Linked DNA regions of Homo sapiens: region 2 is linked to region 1. Evidence: promoter capture Hi-C in human tissues and cell types (Jung and others, 2019). All regions are on one chromosome and are shown on one strand. The core of a region is centred on a gene start or on the middle of the fragment in contact, and the rest is flanking DNA. Distances in the headings are between cores, read along the strand shown. Region 1 holds the start of ADD1 (adducin 1). Region 2 holds the start of FAM193A (family with sequence similarity 193 member A).

Region 1 (5,952 bases), core at 1,863-4,362:
ATTCCAACAACAATGATGCACTTGATAGTTTGGGAATTTATTATAGCTATCAATCAGTTTTGGGAAAATTGACGTCTTTACAATATTGAGTTTTCTGATTCATGAACATGGTTTACCTCTCTTTCCATTTGGGTCTTCTTTAAGGTTTACCAATAGGATTTTATATTTTTGTCCATTGTGGTCTTGCTTATCTTAAGTTTGATTTGTAAATATTTTATGTTTCTTTTAGTCTATTGTAAATTGTGTATTTTTAATTTCATTTTTTTTTTTGTTAATAGCATATAAAACACACCTTGTCTTTTAACTGGAGCATTTTGTCCATTGTGTATTTAATGTAATTAAATCTACCATCTTATTTTATGCTACATATTGTCTCACTTGTGTTTGTGTTTTCTTCCTCCCTTTTCTCTCCTTTTCCCCTTCTTTGAGATTGAGCAACTTAAAACAAATCATTTCATTTCCCCCCTTCTCCTAGTTAGAAAGTTAAACACTCTCTATTCTTACTGAAGTCTAGAGTTAACTAATAAATACTTTTATCCTCCTCCTGGACAACATAAGGACCTCAGGTGACTTTCATTGGTCTCCCTCATTACTTGATATTATTGTTGTATATATCTAATTCTAACTCAATGTATTTTAAAACTCTCACCTAAGACCGTATTTGTTTTTTTGTTTTTTTTTTTTTGGAGGCAGAGTCTCTGTCACCCAGGCTGGAGTGCAGTGGCGCCATCTTGGCTCATTGCAACCTCCATCTCCTGGGTTCAAGCAATTCTTGTGCCTCAGCCTCCTGAGTAGCTGGAATTACAGGTGCCTGCCACCAGACCCAGCTAATTTCTTGTATTTTTAGTAGAGACAGTGTTCTGCCATGTTGTCCATGTTGATCTCTTAACTCCTGAGCTCAGGCAATCCTCCCGCCTTGGCCTCCCAAATTGCTAGGATTACAGGCAAGAGCCACCACGCCTGGACCTTTTTACTTTTTTGTAGTTGGAAAAGGAAGGAATATTTTAATAGCTTTAAAATTGTTTTATTATGATAAAATTTTCATATTATAAAGTTTATCATTTTAATTATTTTAAAGTGTACAGTTCTGTGGCTTTGCGAATATTCATATTATTGTTCAGTCATCACCACCATCCATCTCCAGAACTTTTTCATCACCCCAAGCTTAAACTCTGTACCCATTAAACACTAAATCCCCATTCCTCCAGCCCTTTGCAACCACCATTCTACCTCCTGTCTCTCTGAATTTGACTACTCTAGACACCTCATACAAGTGGAATCATACATTTATCTTTTTGTGATTGGGTTATTTCACATAGCATGTCTTCAGTGTTCATCCATGTTGTAGCATGCGTCAGAATTTCCTTTCTTTTGGCCAGGCATCGTGGTTTATGGGTTTATGCCTGTAATCCCAGCACTTTGGGAGGCTGAGTTTGGATTTGGGAAGATTGCTTGAGCCTAGGAGTTTGAGACCAGCCCTGGCAACATAGTGAGATCCCGTCTCTACAAAAAATAACAAAAATTAGCCAGGCATGTTGGCACGTGCTGGTAGTCCCAGCTACTTGGGAGGCTGAGGCAGGAGGATCCCTTGAGCCTAGGAGGTCAAGGCTGCAGTGAGCCATGGTTGCAACACTGCACTGCAGCCTGGGCGACAGAGACCCTGACTCCAAAAAAAAAAAAAAAAAAAAAAAAAAGGCACAAAACCCCAATAAATAGAATTTCCTTCTCTGCATAATGCTGCTATGAACATGGTACAAATAGCTGTTTTCATTTCTTTGGGGTATATATCCAGAAGTGGAATTGCTGGATTATGTGGTAATTATGTTTAATTTTTTGAGGAACCACTCTACGGTTTTCCACAGCAGCCACACCATTTTACATTCCCGTCAGCGATGCACAAAGGGTTCCAATTTCTCCGCATCTTTGCCAACACTTATTTTCTTTTTTTCCTCTTCTTCCTCCTTCTCCCCCCTTGAAACTTTTTGTTTTCTTCTCGTTTTTGTAGAGAACAGGGTCTCCTTATGTTGTCCAGTCAAGTCTGCCAACTCCTGGGCTCAGGCTATCCTCCTGTTTCTGCCTCCCTAAGTGCTGGGATTTTAGGCTGAAGCCACTGCGCCCAACTCCCTGCTTCTTCAACTGCCATCCTAATGAATGTTAAGTGGTATCCCACAGTGGTTTTGATTTGCGTTTCCCTAGTGATTAACTATGGGAAGCAGAAGTGAATGAGACAGAATTGTGATCTTGTCAGAAAAATCGTCTTGGAAAAGCCAACGTCCAACAGAAATGGTTAGAACAGGGGTCGCTGGCTTCCATCCAGACAGTATCCCTGACCCTTGTTGGGGCAATGTCACAGAGGCTCCTGCTGAGCAGGGAGGTCTGGATTCCACACTCTTCTGCCACTGCCCAGCTCTGGACCTAAGCTTTCTATGGGTGTCAAGAGGACAAGCAGCCGTGCCCATTTGTCTCGCTGCTTGTTTTTTTGGGTGTCAGATGCGCCAGCAGGAGGGACAGTGTGCGGGAAGGTGCTGGTCTGAGGCTGGTCCTGCCAAAGCCCCGCAGGCTCACTCCCTGGTCGTGCGGAGGTGGCTGGTGCTCGCTGGTCTCCTCAGCACCCGCAGGCCGGGCCCGGGGGCCAGGCAGTTGTCCTCTGTGGAGCCTTATCGGGGCCCACAGGCCCTGCTGCCTTGACCCCACCCGGGCCCCAAAACTCGGCCTGGGGACTGCACAAGGCGGGGCTACGCGGGGCAGGGCCCGTCTGCTGGGGGAGTGCGCTGGGCGGCGGCGGGAGGGCAGGGTCCCTGGGCTCCGACAGCCCCTCCGGCGGAGGTCAATCACAATGAAACCGTGTCCAGCGGACCCGGCAGGGGCTCGCCGCAGTCTACCTGGCCACCGTGAAGCCATGACCTGGCGCCCGAAGCTGCCGGCCGGGGTGTACTCCGCGCGGGACCCTGGGCCTCCGCAGGCCCCGGCGGGGTCGCCCCGAGGCGGGCCTGGCGAGTCCAATCGCCCTGCCCGCAGGGGACCCGCCCCTCATGGGTCCCGCCAATCGCAGGGTACGTTGCTCGGCAGTGCTGCGCGGCTTGGCCTATGGGACGGCGCGTTGTTGGGCTGCAGCGCCGCAGGCCGCACCCAGGTCGGGCGGTGGGGGCGAGCGGAGGGGCTGAGGGGCGGAGAGGCCTGGCGGGCCGCTGCTGCGGGCCAGGGGACGGGGGCGGAGCCGGAGCCGGAGCCGACGGGCGGTGGCCGCACTGGGACCCCGGAATCCCGCGCGCTGCCCACGATTCGCTTCTGAGGTGAGGCTAGCTAGCGGGGGCGGCGGGGGCCCGGTTCGGGCTGAGGCGGCGGCGGGGGCGCGGGGAACTGGGCCGCGGTTGCGGCGGGCGGGGGCCGCGGGGCCTGCGGCGGCCCGGGCAGCCTCGGGGGCGGGGAGGCCGCTGCGGCGCCGAGGGCGTCTTGGAGGGGTCCCCGCGGGGCCTTCGGCCTGGGCCGAGCCGGGGAGCGAGGGCGCCGCAGATCTTTCATCGGGATAGGACCCCGGGGACTAGGCTTTTCCCGGGCCGCTCGTTCCTGGCCGGCTTGTGGGCTGCAGGGGTGGGGGCGGAGGAGGACGACCCTGGCTGGACGCTGGTCAGCATCCTGCTTGTGAGACCGGTTCCGCGGTCCGCAGCGCTGGTGGCTGCAAGGTTTGTGTACGGACGCATCTGTCGGCTCTCGTATTTAAAAACGACGGCTTCTGCCAAAAGAGAAAAGCCATATCTGCCGACGGACGCTCGAGAGATAATCGTGGAACTTTATCAGCGATGGGGCTGTTGGTCACCTTTGCCCTCCCTCTCTTTTCTTTTTTCTTAATCTTTTATTTTCGTTTTTTGGGAGATGTCAGAGGGCCTTTCCCTGTTAGGATGACTTTTATCTTTGCTCTTGTAATGGCTCAAGATAGTTGGGAGGTAATTTGCATTCACTTTATGCATACCCACCTTGAAAAACGTATTTTGGTTCGCCTGAAACTGTTGTTGGTTTGAGCATAATTTATGTTTAGAAAGACAAAAAGCAATTGTCATATCTCCAAAGACCAAAGACATAGCTGATAGCTGTATGCATTACTGGTAAGTTAAAGAAAGATTTTTTGTGTGAAAAATTGACTGAGATCTTAATGGGGATAGGAAATAGAATGCTGATAGGTCGACTGTGTCTATGAGTAGAGGCGCCTAGTGAAAACAAGCTTGGAGTGGATGAGTAGGAGTTCAACAGGCACCAGAGAGAGGAGGGCATTTCAGGCAGAGGGTGTGAATTGTATGAAAGTGAGTTTGTAAACTTTGGAGCCTTGAATGGACAAAGGCCCGCGATGATACCTTTTTTTTTTGAGACGGAGTCTCGCTCTGTCGCCAGGCTGGAGTACAGTGGCGCGATCTCCAGTCACTGCAATCTCCGCCTCCCAGGTTCAAGCAATTCTCCTACCTCAGCCTCCCGAGTAGCTGGGACTACAGGCGCGCGCCACCACGCCCAGCTAATTTTTGTATTTTTAGTAGAGACGGGGTTTCACCATGTTGGCCAGGATGGTCTCAGTCTCTTGACCTCGTGATCCGTCCGCCTAGGCCTCCAAAAGTGCTGGGATTACAGGCGTGAGCCACCGCGCCTGGCCTACGTTAAAATTTTAATATACTCCTTTGATTTTGACAGTGGAGAAAACTAGAATAGTAAAGTTGTCTTTTCAGGAAGTGGATGATTTGGGCAGTCAAAACTGCTTTTCAGAGTTTCGATGTGGTTTACAATGGTATGGACAGCTGGTATGATTTGTTAGTTTTCTACTTGTGGTGTCTTTAGGTTTTAAAGTTTCGGAGAGTCGCTGAGTGATGTGAGTCTAAACTCTAGCCAGTCCCCGAATTGTGAGATAGTTTTCCTTCTAAAATATACTTCGTACAAGCTGGTCATTTTTCCCCTTAATTCTTTTGATGTTATCTGATATACTGAGAAGGTTTTGTTTGGTGTTCAGTTTTGTGTTACTGATTTTGCCATAAAAACTGTTTATTTACATGATTTTTAGTTTTTAGTTCTTATAGTCTTTGAATTGAATAAGAAAAGTAAATACTGAAATGCTTTGAAAGATAACAAAATATTTACTTATTGCTTGAAACTTAGAGTTAGATTGACTGCCCTTCCTTTCTTTCCTTCCATGTTTACCTCTTAACATATACACATATGTAGAGAGAATAGTATAAACCCCTTTTCTCAACCAGTTTCAACAGTCAATCTTGCTTCATCATATCCCCGCAGTCCTAGATATCCTTTAACCGTTAAATAGTTCAATATGTATATCTTAAAGACTTAAACAAAAGGTAAACATGAGTACCACTATCACAGAAAATGAATAATTCCTTAATACTTTCAAATATCCAGCCAGTGTTAAAATTGTCAGAATTCTCATTTTTTTTCTTAACAATTTCAATCGATCCACATGCTATCTATACAGTGTGACTCATTTTAATTGATAGTTTCCCCTCCATATTTAGTTTTCTCTTGTAATTTATTTATGGATGAAACCTGGTAGTTTGTCATGTGGAGTTATGCACAGTCTCAATTTTACTCTGTGGCATAGTTTCACAGAATTTACTGAAAACTGGTGGTTAGATCTAAAGGTATGATCAGATTCAGCTTTACTTTTGTCAAGCAAACTTCTTAGGTAAGTAGGCAGAAATGATTAGTAGTCTTTGTTCGCAGCCCTTGATTGTCAGTGCCTACAGTCATTTCAGCAAGCATTGAATATATTGATATTTGAATTCTATAACTTCTTTTATTAAATAGAATATTTTTATAAAGATAATTTTTCATGCCTCCACTATTTGGTTATCTTGAGGTATCTCTTACAGAAAAGGGAGGATAAATGCTTAATTCTTCTCCATTATTTACTAGGTTTCACATAATGAATTGTTTCGCTAATATCCTTCAAAAGTAGCC
Region 2 (5,952 bases), core at 1,706-4,205, 310 kb before region 1:
TGGGTCAGAGGATCAGGAGGCTGTGGCTGCAGCTGGGGCGGGTTGCGGGGACCCAGGACGAACAGTAGAGCTCGGTTAACGCTGCAAGGGGAGCCTGGCAGGCCGTACATCCCAATGCCAAGCCCGCCGCCTCTCGGCCTGACACCACCGGTGGAACCAAAAAGGGGAAATCATGTCCTTTGTGCCTCTGTGTCTGTGGTAAGCGGGGCCCTCCAGGGGGCGGAGCCGCCGGCAGGGTCCCCCCGTGGCCCGGGTCTCAGGGCAGAGCTCTGCCTGGGGCTCGCAGATGTCTGCAAGGCCGCGGAGGGAGGAGGGTCCAGACGCAAGCCCTTATTTCTGATCTGGACGTCTGCGAGGGTCTGACCCGGCTAGTCGTCCCCGAGGTGCGTGAGTGCGAGGGTGTGGGACACGGCCGGATCGTCCTAGGGCCCCGTGGATTAGCAAGGCACCGGGACCACTGGAGAGGGCTTAACGGGATAGCAGGGAGAGGGCGGGCTCGGGAAGAGCACCCTTTAGGCGAGGGGTTCTCGGGGAACCGACCGGCGTGTCCCAGCCCCAGGCCCGGTCCAAGATTCGCCGGCTCCGCCGCTGCCTCCGCACCCAGGCGGACCCCACCGCACCGCGCCCGGCTTTCCAGCGCTGCCCGAACCCCCGCCCAGCCCACGAGGCAGGGATTCTGTGGTCCTCACTGAGTCATCTGGACCAGAACTAGACTAGCCCAAGGTCACCGGGCGTTCCTGGCGAGGCCAGGGCCGCGCCGCGCCGCCCCTGGTGCATCCCGGGAGCCGCGCCGGTCTGCGGCACCTGGGCGGCGGACAGGGGCGCGGGCGAGGCGGGCGGGGCGGGCGGGCAGCGGACACCGGTCAGAGAGGCGGAACTCCCTGCCGCCAGCCGTGTAGTTTGCCTCGCGGGCGGCGGCGCGGCCTCCTGCCGGCCTAGCCCTACGCCCGACCACAACGCCCAGAAGGCCGCGCGGCGCGGGCGGGACCTGCGGCGACGAGCGAGGCGGTGACATCACCGCCGCATCCAGCTCCCTGGCCCCAGCTCCTCCCAGCGCCCGGGCCCTCGGCCTCGCAAGGCCTGACGGGAATCGTGGTCCACCCCCGGGTACCCCCAGCTGCTGCACGGGCAGCACGGACTTCAGTTCCCGGCGTGTCCTGCGCGCCGAGGCACGTTAACGGCAGGAGGGGGTGGGCAAGCAAAGGGAAAAGCAGAGCCGGGGGGCGGAGTAAGGCGGGGTGGGGGTGGGGGGTGGGGGCCCACACCCCTCCCCCTCCCCGCTGCTCCTTCCCCCTCCCCCGACGTAAACTGGGATCCCTTTCCCCTTGTGTCCGCCATATTGGACTCTAACTCTGGTCAGCCGCGGCGCCGGGACTGTGGACTCGCGGTTCCTCCCGCCCAGCGGCCTGCCCCGCAGCTCCCGCCCGCCCCAGCCCTCCCCGACCCGGACGCGACCCCGCGCAGCGCCCCCCGGCTGGCCGGAGCGCCCGCCGCCGCGGCCGCCTCAGCCTCCCCGCCTTCCCCGCCCTCCGCCGCCGCCCGCGGCCCCCGCGCCCGCTCTGCGCCCCTCTCCCCGCCCGCCATGAGCCCAGCCGACGCCAAGCGCGGGGCCAAGCGCCGGAAGAACAAGCGGGGCGGCGGCGGCGGCTCGGGCGGGGGTAACGGCGGCGCGAGCAGCGGCAAGGCCGGCCCGGCGGCGGCGCTGCGCGGTTCCCAGGCCGCGGGCCTGGCGGCCCCGGGCAGCGCGGCAGGCCTGGTGGGCGGCGCGGCGGCGGCCAACGGGCCTCTCGGCGCGGGCGCGAGCGCGGGCGGCGCCGCCCCCGGAGGCTACTTCGAGGTAAGCGGCGGCAGCGGGCAGGGGTCGATGGCGGTACGCGGTTGCCGTTCCCTCGCGCCTTGGCGGAGCTCGGCCTCCCGCTGTCGGCCCCGGGCCTGGGAGCGGGATGCTGCGGGCGGGCGGATAACGGGTCCTGCGGCGCTGCGCTTGCCGAGGTCCCGGGGCAGGGCGGCAGGTGGGCCGTGCTCGGCGTGACGCGGCCTCTGTCAGCCTCTTGAGAGGAGAACCTGAGCAGAGGCGGCGGGAGGGCTACACCGGGGCCGCCGCTCACGGCGACGGGCTGGTCCGCAGGCTGGAGCAGCCCCTCAACGGGCGGGGACGTCTCCGGGGTGCAGCTCCGCGCACGGCGCTTCGCCTTCCGCTGGACCCGGCGGGTGATACCCGCGAGGCCCGGGCTTCTGTCGTGGCGCCTCGCCCGCTGCGGCGGTTCCAGAGCGACTGCGATTCCGGGAGTGAGCAAAGCTGCCCTTTCGCTCCCAGGGCTTTGAAATGTTTCTCTGGCCACCTTCGTTATTCCGTGCGCGTGATGATTGAGAAGGGCCTCCCGGAAGTTTTCCTTTGGTCCTCCTATGTGGTTATTTGAAATCTACCTGACAGCCACCTGGAGCTGGCAGCCCTGGCCCCTCCTCCCCCGCTTTGTTAAGTTTTCAGGGGTATTTAGTGGTTTGGTTACTCAGGTATGTATTTAGGGTTCGAACTTAAGGAATTTGAAAGGTGATTTTTTTCAGTTTTGTTTATGAAGACAGCTAGCACACATTGCACCTACCAATTATGGATTCCTGCCACTTTTATTCAACCGTTGGTCACAACATTTCAGAGGGTACACTATTTATAAGTGGGTATGCAATTGGCGCAGTCATTTCCAGTTATCCCATTGTCTGCTGAAAGAGAATAGATTTTTTTTGAAAAGTTGCGTTCTTATAATGTTATTTAAACTCTTAAATTATGTAGTTTTAAAGATATTGCAATTAAAAAATGAAAGAAGCGTTGGGAGTATTTTTGTGCTAAATCATGACACAAATTGTTCTTTTTTTTTTTTTCTTTTGAGAACGGAGTCTCGCTCTGTCGCCCAGGCTGGAGTGCAATAATGGCGCGATCTTGGCTCACTGTAACCTCCGCCTCCCGGGTTCAAGCGATTCTCCTGCCTCAGCCTCTCGAGTAGCTGGGACTACAGGCATGCGCCACCATGCCCGGCTAATTTTTGTAGAGACAGGGTTTCACCATGTTGGCCAGGCTGGTCTCGAACTCGTGATCTCAGGTGATCCGCCCACCTTGGCGTCCCAAAGTGCTGGGATTACAGGTGTGAGCCACCGCGCCCGGCCGTTTTTATTATTATTATATTGTTACATTAGGGTCTTGGGCTGTAGTCCTGGACTTCAGTCTCCCGAGATTGCCCTCATCCAGTATCCTGGAGATCAAAACAGGCCGCAGTTCTTGGGATCAAGGATGAGTCTTGAGCGTTTGGATCTTTGGGGTTTTTAAGGGCAGTGTTTGCTGCTGTCGGGTAGGGGAGGGCGGGGGGGGTTTGCCTGTGCATATCCTTACACAAAATATTGATAATTTTTGGTGTAGCTGGATGTGGAATATATTCATTTCTATTGATTCAATAAAAACCAGTTGGTGGCACAATAAAATTCTTAGTTTTAGCCTTTCATACCATTTCAAGTTTTAATAATTTACATTTGCTTTGCAATACTTAGGTAAAATATAACTTTATTATTTTTATTTATTTTTTTTTGAGACAGAGTCTCACTCTGTCGCCCAGGCTGGAGTGCAGTGGTGCGATCTTGGCGCACCGTAACCTCTGTCTCCCGGGTTCAAGCGATTCTCCTGCCTAACCCTCTCAAGTAGCTGGGACTACAGGTACCTGCCACCATGCCTGGCTAATTTTTTTTGTATTTTTAGTAGAGACAGGGATTCACTATGTTGGGCAGGCTGGTCTTGAAGTCCTGACCTCCTGATCCACCTGCTTTGGCCTCTCAAAGTCCTGGAATTACAGGCGTGAGCCACCGTGCCCAGCCCTGCCTTTATTATTTTTGTCGCGTTATTCAAAATCAGATAACTGTATGCCTATTATTATTAAGATAGGGTCTTGCTATGTTGCCTAGGCTGGCCTTGAGCTTGTGGGCTCAAGGGATCCCTCTCATCTTAGTTTTACTAATTACTAAGGGCACAGACCCTTGCCACTGTGCCCACCTGAGTATTATTTTTGACAGGACTGTGATATTCTGTTAAACTAGTATGCATCAGGGTTTTGTTGTTTTAAAAGAGACACGGTCTCTCTCTGTTGCATAGGCTAGAGTACAGTTGCCTGGTCATAGCTCACTGTAACCTCCAATTTCTGGGCTAAGCAGTCCTTCCATGTAGCTAGGCCTCTAGGTATGTGCCACCATGCCTGGCTAATTTGTTCTTTTAATATAGATACAGGGTCTCACTATGTTACCCAGGCTTGTCTTGAACTCTTGACCTCAAGTGATCCTCCCATCTCTGCCTCCCAAAGTGCTGGGATTACAGGCCTGAGCCACTGCACCTGGCCTATCAAGGTTTTTGACCATGACCCACTCTTATGACCCACTCCAAGAAATAAAATCCGTTAAGATCTAGGAAACATACACATAAACACAAAAATTTCACAAAACATTTTAGGGCCGGGCACCGTGGCTCATGCCTGTAATTCCAGCACTTCGGGAGGCCGAGGTGGGTGGATCACCTGAGGTCAGGAGTTCGAAACCAGCCTGGTTGACAGATGATGAAACCCCAGAGATGGTGAAACCCCGTCTCTACTAAAAATACAAAAATTAGCCAGGTGTGGTGGTATGCACTTGTAATCCCAGCTACTCGGGAGACTGAGGCAGGAGAATTGCTTGAACCTGGGAGATGTAGGTTGCAGTGAGCTGAGATCTAACCATTGCACTACTGCCTGGGCAACAAGAGTGAAACTCTGTCTCAAAAAAAAAAAAAAAATCCCATCCTTGTTGACACGGTGAGACCTCATCTCTGCTAAAAATACAAAAAATGGCCGGGCGCAGTGGCTCACGCCTGTAATCCCAGCACTGTGGGAGGCCGAGGCAGGCGGATCACGAGGTCAGGAGATCGAGACCATCCTGGCTAACACAGTGAAACCCGTCTCTAGTAAAAATACAAAAAATTAGCCGGGCGTGGTGGCGGGCACCTGTAGTCCCAGCTACTCCGGAGGCTGAGGCAGGAGAATAGTGTGAACCTGGGAGGCGGAGCTTGCAGTGAGCCGAGATGGCGCCACTGCACTCCAGCCTGGGCGACAGAGCGAGACTCCGTCTCAAAACAAACAAACAAACAAACCCCAAAAAATTAGCCAGGCGTGGTGGCGGGCGCCCTGTAGTCCCAGCTACTCCGGAGGCTGAGGCAGGAGAATGGCATGAACCCAGGAGGCTGAGCTTGCAGTGAGCCGAGATGGCGCCACTGCACTCCAGCCTGGGTGACAGAGTGAGACTCCGTCTCAAAAAAACAAACGAACAAAAACGAAAAAACAGGCCGAGTGCGGTGGCTCACACCTGTAATCCCAGCACTTTGGGAGGCTGAGGCAGGTGGATCACCTGAGGTTAGGAGTTCCAGACCAGCCTGGCCAATGTGATGAAACCCCATCTCTACTAAAAATACAAAGAATAGCCGGGAATAGTGGTGGATGCCTGTAATCCCAGCTACTCCGGACGCTGAGGCTGGAGAATCACTTGAACCTGGGAGACGGAGGTTGCAGTGAGCCCAGATCACATCACTACACTCTAGCCTGGGCGACAGTGCAAGACTGTGTCTCAAAATCCGTCTCAAAAAAAAAAAAAAAAGGGCAGGCGCAGTGGCTGACACCTATAATCCTAGCACTTTGGGAAGCCGAGGCAGGAGGATCAGCTGAGGTCAGGAGTTTGAGACCAGCCTGAGAAACATGGAGAAACCCTGTCTCTACTAAAAATACAAAATTAACTGGGTGTGGTGGCGCATGCCTGTAATCCTAGCTACTCAGGAGGCTGAGGCAGGAGAATCGCTTGAACCTGGGAGGTGGAGATTGTCATGCCAGCTACTCTGGAGGCTGAGGCAGGAGAATTGCTTGAACCTGGGAGGTGGAGATTGTCATGAGCTGAGAT

The links. The method cuts DNA at HindIII sites, captures the fragments that hold promoters and counts their contacts. A contact is called where the count stands out against the background at its distance.
Region 2: a fragment that was not itself captured here is called in contact with the fragment with the promoter of ADD1 in region 1 in 1 of the 25 tissues and cell types used here (dorsolateral prefrontal cortex).

What each region holds. Positions count from the first base shown.
Region 1 is chr4:2,840,732-2,846,683 of GRCh38, forward strand. It overlaps ADD1 (adducin 1), which reads left to right and starts at 3,113. Exons shown (of 16, transcript NM_001354761.2): 1 at 3,113-3,293. SH3BP2 (SH3 domain binding protein 2) reads left to right here. Exons shown (of 13, transcript NM_001122681.2): 13 at 1-365. RefSeq lists an enhancer at 1,885-2,396 and silencers at 2,525-2,574, 2,675-3,054, 3,115-3,304, 3,425-3,574. The HindIII fragment of the contact is 4,953 bases long and covers 1,793-5,952 here.
Region 2 is chr4:2,535,334-2,541,285 of GRCh38, forward strand. It overlaps FAM193A (family with sequence similarity 193 member A), which reads left to right and starts at 1,314. Exons shown (of 21, transcript NM_001366318.2): 1 at 1,314-1,837. The coding sequence starts at 1,583. RefSeq lists silencers at 198-357, 1,728-2,017, 2,068-2,227, 2,229-2,523, 2,268-2,317 and 3 more. The HindIII fragment of the contact is 7,680 bases long and covers 1-5,952 here.